2 separate regions of the Homo sapiens genome follow, and region 2 is linked to region 1. Evidence: promoter capture Hi-C in human tissues and cell types (Jung and others, 2019). All regions are on one chromosome and are shown on one strand. The core of a region is centred on a gene start or on the middle of the fragment in contact, and the rest is flanking DNA. Distances in the headings are between cores, read along the strand shown.

What was found. Contacts are between HindIII fragments. The study calls those that stand out against the background at their distance.
Region 2: the fragment with the promoter of SAPCD2 here is called in contact with a fragment that was not itself captured in region 1 in 2 of the 25 tissues and cell types used here (dorsolateral prefrontal cortex and spleen).

The regions. Positions count from the first base shown.
Region 1 is chr9:137,413,731-137,416,430 of GRCh38, forward strand. All of the region lies in intron 1 of EXD3 (exonuclease 3'-5' domain containing 3), which reads right to left. Among named protein-coding and RNA genes, the nearest start is that of EXD3, 8.1 kb to the right of the region's middle. The HindIII fragment of the contact is 3,762 bases long and covers 1-2,700 here.
Region 2 is chr9:137,069,198-137,071,897 of GRCh38, forward strand. SAPCD2 (suppressor APC domain containing 2) reads right to left here and starts at 1,360. Exons shown (of 6, transcript NM_178448.4): 1 at 693-1,360. The coding sequence starts at 1,263. RefSeq lists silencers at 688-737, 788-837, 1,008-1,417 and an enhancer at 1,522-2,501. The HindIII fragment of the contact is 19,800 bases long and covers 619-2,700 here.

The DNA of each region.
Region 1 (2,700 bases), core at 133-2,632:
GACCTCACGTGATCCACTTGCCTCAGCCCAGAACATTTTCATTGCCCCAAAGACAACCAACCATGTGCCCATCAACAATTACTCCCTCTGCCCCTCCTCAGCCCCTGGCCATTTTGTGTCTCTGTGAATCTTTCTATTTTGGGCATTTCCTATAAAGGAGACCACACAGGTTCTGTTGTTTTTTTTTTCTTTTTTTTTTTTTTTGAGACGGAGTCTCACTCTGTTGCTCAGGCTGGAGTGCAGTGGTGCCATCTCGGCTCACTGCAAGCTCTGCCTCCCGGGTTTACGCCATTCTCCTGCCTCAGCCTCCCGAGTAGCTGGGACTACAGGCGTCCGCCACCACGCCCGGCTAATTTTTGTATTTTTAGTAGAGACGGGGTTTCACTGTGTGTTAGCCAGGATGGTCTCGATCTCCTGACCTCGTGATCCACCTCCCTTGGCCTCCCAAAGTGCTGGGATTACAGGCGTGAGCCACCGCGCCCGGCCAAGGTTCTGTTCTCTTGTGGCTGACTGACCTCACTTGGCATGGTGTCTTCAAAACTCATCCCTGCAGCAGCATGTGCTGGAACTGCCTTTCCGTGGCTGAGTCCTGCCCCACTGTGTGCACAGACCACGGGCTGTTTGTCCAGCAGACATTCGGGCCGCACCCCCTTGTCTGGCTGTTATAAACAGTGCTGCTGTGAACAGCTGTGTGCATGTTTCTGTGTGGAGTGTGTTTTCACTGATCTGGGGACACACATTCCTAGGACTGGAGCTGCTGAGTCTCGGTGTTTCTATGTTTAGCTTTTTGAGGAACTACCAGACTGTTTCCACAGTGGACGTGCCATTTTACGCTAGCATCGATAACACACGAGGGTTCTGATTTCTCCACAGCCTCACCAACGCCTGTTGCGGTCTGTCTTTCGTTTTTTTAAACTTACCAATTTAACTTAAGGATTGTTCCTTTCCTTAACAATTAACATGACCAATTTTAAACACAAAAAGTAACTTTCCAGGGATATTGCACAGGAGATGGAGAAGGAGGCCAGCAGGTGTGACAGGTGTGGGGTCCCACACCGCCACTCCAGGGGGGTGCTGGCATGTTTGGCCCCCGTGGGCTCCACGTAGGTCGCAGGGTTTCTTTGTATGTTTGTTTTTATGTTTTTGAGATGGAGTCTCGCTCTGTTGTCCAGGCTGAGACGGAATCTCACTTTGTCGCCCAAGCTGGAGTGCAGGGGGGCGATCTCGGCTCACTGCAAGCTTTGCCTCCAGGGTTCAAGTGATTCTCCTGCCTCAGCCTCCCGAGTAGCTGGGATTACAGGTGCCTGCCACCACGCCCAGCTAATTTTTGTATTTTTAGTAGAGACGCGGTTTCATCATGTTGGCCAGGATGGTCTTGAACTCCTGACCACAAGCAATCCGCCCACCTCGGCCTCTCAAAATGCTGGGATTACAGGCGTGAGCCACTGCGCTGGGCCTGTCACAGGTTTGTTTTTTTTTTTTCTGTTTTTTGAGATGGAGTCTTGCTCTGTTGCCCAGGCTGGAGTGCAGTGGGGCGATCTCAGCTGACTGCAACCTCCGCCTCCCGGGTTCAAACCGTTTTCCTGCCTCAGCCTCCTGAGTGGCTGGGATTACAGGCATGCACAGCTAATTTTTGTAATTTTAGTAGAGACAGGGTCTCTCCATGTTCGCCAGGCTGGTCTCGAATTCCTGACCTCAGGTGATCAGCCTGCCTCGGTCTCCTAAAGTGCTGGGATTACAGGCAGGAGCCACTGCTCCTGCCCAGGCTGCGGTTTTGAAGGACACCTTCCCTGTTCACCGTGTTGGTTTTAGCTCTGCGGCAAGCTTCTCTGTGCACCCCACCTCCCTGCAGCTCACTGCCCACAACACATGGATGTACCATGGGACAGCTGCAAGGACGGGTCAGGTGGCCCATGGGCTCTGGGGAACCCTTTCTGGGAGGTGCCAACAGCACATGTTGGGGTCACCATCACAGACGGGGCTGGGGCCAACAGTCCCCCATCAAGGGTGGGCTTTCCCAAGGACCCCAGTTCTGATCACACAAGGTAGAATCTGATGAATGATAAACAGCATTTAAAAACCATGTTTTATAAAAATACTTAATGGCATGGGAAAGGGTTCACAGAGCAGCATAAAGTCGCGTTGCCCTAAGGGGATCACGCTGCACGGTGCAAGGTCCCTTCTCAAAACCAGGCAGATGCACGTGTGAGGGCCTGGCTGCTCTGCCGACGGTGCCTCTGTGCTTTCTGTTTTGTATTTTCTGAATACTACACAATGTATACACCCTGGTTTGTATTCATGAACAAAGAAAAAACCATGAATGATATTTTTGAAGGTTAAAACTAGGATGGGATCTTAGCCTTAGCACCTCCACACCTCACCCATGGTGACAGGGCCTCTGCCTGCCGCCGGCCACTGCCAGCCACACCTGGGACCCACAGCCAGGGCTTTCGCTCTTCTGCAGTGCCTGAGGGCCAAGAATTCTGCGGTGGCTGGCTGGGTGGCCGCTCCACCAGGGGGAGGGCACTGCACGTCTCAGTCCTCAGCAGCCCGAGGTTCCCAGAGTGAGGGACCCACAGGGACAAAGGGGCGGACTTGGGGCCCTCACGACCTATCTCCATGTCACACAGCCTCTGCCACCTTCCCATCAGGCCGGGCACCCCCAGGTCCAGCTCACACTCCACCGCAGCTTCTGCACAG
Region 2 (2,700 bases), core at 110-2,609, 340 kb before region 1:
ACCATTCAGCAATCTCCCATCACTGCCAACTGGACCGGAAGGCAGGAGAGGAGTGTGCCAGCCATCCCCAGGGACTACGGCCTATGTCCCTCCATGGCATCTGCCATAGTACAGCCCCACTGGGGTGCAGGAGATCCACCCACGCCCCTGCCCATCTTGGCAACAGGGCCAGGTCCTCTTGGGCCACCAGCAGCAGCCCCCGCCTGCCTAGGCCTCAGTGGGGTCAGTGGGCCCAGCCCCCCTGGCTAAGCTGTCACACTGAGAAGGGGGACCCTTTCTTTGAGAAGGAAGCACTTCTGCCTGAGCAGCCACAGACAGGAGGCTGAGGGCCCAGGTGTCCCCAGGTGCGGAAAGGGTATTGGAGATGGAGAGCCCAAGCTCAGGCTTGGTACAGGTTGGGCTCCCGGTGGGTTTTCTGAGTCACCTGCCACCCCCCGGCCCTGGTGGCCTTATGCTGTGGCAGGAGAGGGTCTGGCTTGCCTCCCTAAGCAAGCCCCTGGGCTCACCGCGACAAGCATGAAGCCCTTTCCCTCCAGACCCGCCGAGGCGCCCTCCAGGATCCGGAGTCCACGAAGAGCCGCTCCCCGGTCCCGTCCCTTGTGGGAAATGCACGGGCAGCAGCTGTGGGACTGCGGTTTCTGGCCCGGGCCCGGGAGAGCTACGAGGGTGCCCGGGGGCCGTCCGGAACTCACCTGCGTCCGCGCTGGAGCTCGGTTCCAGCGCCGCGCTCTGGGACCGCTCGGGCTCCGCGGGGCAGGGCGCCGCCTCAGCCGGGGCGCACAGCTGCTCCGGGCTGCGGGCGGCGGCGCTGGGACCGGCCAGAGGGGCGCGCACGCCCAGGGGCAGGGGCTTCCTCTCCAGGACCGTCCGCGGCTCGTCGGCCGGAGCGAACACCAGGCGCTGCGGCGGCGGCGGCGGCTGATCCCCGGGCCGGGCCGGGGCGCGCGTGGGGTCCCGGGGGCCGCCGTCGGCGCTCAGCAGGGAGGTGCGCAGGCCGGCCACGAAGCGCTCGAAGGTCAGGTAGCCGCTGGCCGGGGCCACCTGGCGCAAGCCCTCCAGCACCCCGCGGGGCAGCTCCCGCGCGTCGGTGCCCTGCCAGCGGGACTCGATCTCGCGCAGGTGCACGCAGCCGCGCCGCCGGTCGTCCAGGATGTCGAACAGGGTGCGCAGGCTCTGCAGGAAGGCGCGCGGCAGCCCCTCCGTGCTGGGCGCGGGTGCGGGGGGAGGCACGCGGCCCCGCTCGGCCATGGCGGCCCCGGCCATGGGCGCCCGGGATCGGTCCCCTCGTCCACCCGCGTGCGTCCCAGCGCGGCCCCACGGAGGGGCCGGCCCGGCGAGCTCAGCCCACGGCGACAATAGCGACTACTTTTGAATGGGGCCCTCCTCGCGGCGTCAGCCCTCATTAACATGCGCCGCGGCCATTGGCCGAGCCCGTCCCATCTGCTCTCTGATAGGCTGAGAGGAGGTTTGATTTTTTTTTTTTTTTTCTTGCCGAGTGGCCCTGGGAGGCGCGCGGAGGCCCTGGGCAGGCGGAACCGGATCCCCCAGCTCCTGCTCCACTCTGGCCTCGCAGACCTTCCTTTCTGCCCCGCCCCAGCCCCACCAAACCTCCTGCCGCGGCCAGGCGCTTTCTCGGATCCAGCTGTGGCTGGCTGCCCCGGCCACCTCTCCAAGGGGCGGGGCCTGGCACCCTACAAAAAAACCTGTCTCCAGGTAGCCTCGTGGGGTAAGAATGGGGGGGGGCACCCCCTCCAAAGATCCCACTTTTCCCCTCTAGTTCCCTGGCCGCAAGCACAGGTGACCCTGCGGCCCCCTTCTCTTCCACCAGGAGGGCCCCAAGAGGATCGTAGGCTCCAGCCAGCTGGGCGCTTCCCACTCACAGAGGCCTTTCTGTCCCCACTGCTGCTGGCTCCTCCTCTGGTCCCTCGGGACAGTCTGGCCTGGCCTGCCTGCTGCAGAACAAAGCCACTTTCTCCTGTGTCCCCAGATCCCCATCTAGTGACCAGCTCCCTCTGCCTCTTGCTCTCCTCTCCTCCTTCCCCTGGCTGGACACCTCCTCCAGCTGCTCTCCTGGCTCCCGCAGCCCTGTCCCCCTGCCTCTGCTGTGTTTCCAGCTGGGATCTGGTCACTCTGTCTTCATTTGGTCTGTCCACATGGGAGGTGAGACCAGGCCTTAGCCTGGGTTCTAGCCCTGGGAGCCCATCTCAGGGCTGGCCAGTAGTACCCTCTAGGTTCCAGGGAGGTGTTCAGGGTGCAAACACCCTCCCCAGACAGGCCCCCAATCCGAGACTTGCCTTGGCCCTCTGCGGGTCTCCCACCCTCCCTCCTGGGCAGGCCTCAGCTGGCATACCTACCTGGGTCTCTGTCCTCAGGCCTGAGCCACTGGTGCCTGTGTCTCAAGCTGTAGAGGCATCTTCCCAGGCCAGGGAGTATCCTGGGTCCACTTCTCTTCTGGGTCACTCACTCTAAGTGGGACTCCTTCATCGTAGGGAATGCTGGAAGGACATAAGAAGCTCTGAGCCTGGAGCAGCCCATCAGAGCTTGGTCCTGTAAGCCAGCTTCCCCTTTAATGGCTGGTCTGCTCAAAAACCCAGCACGAGGCCGAGGCGGGAGGATCACTTGAGCTGGGGAGTTCAAGACCAGCCTGGGCAACATAAGGCAACCCTATTTCTACAAAAAGTTTAAAAAATTAGCCAGGCG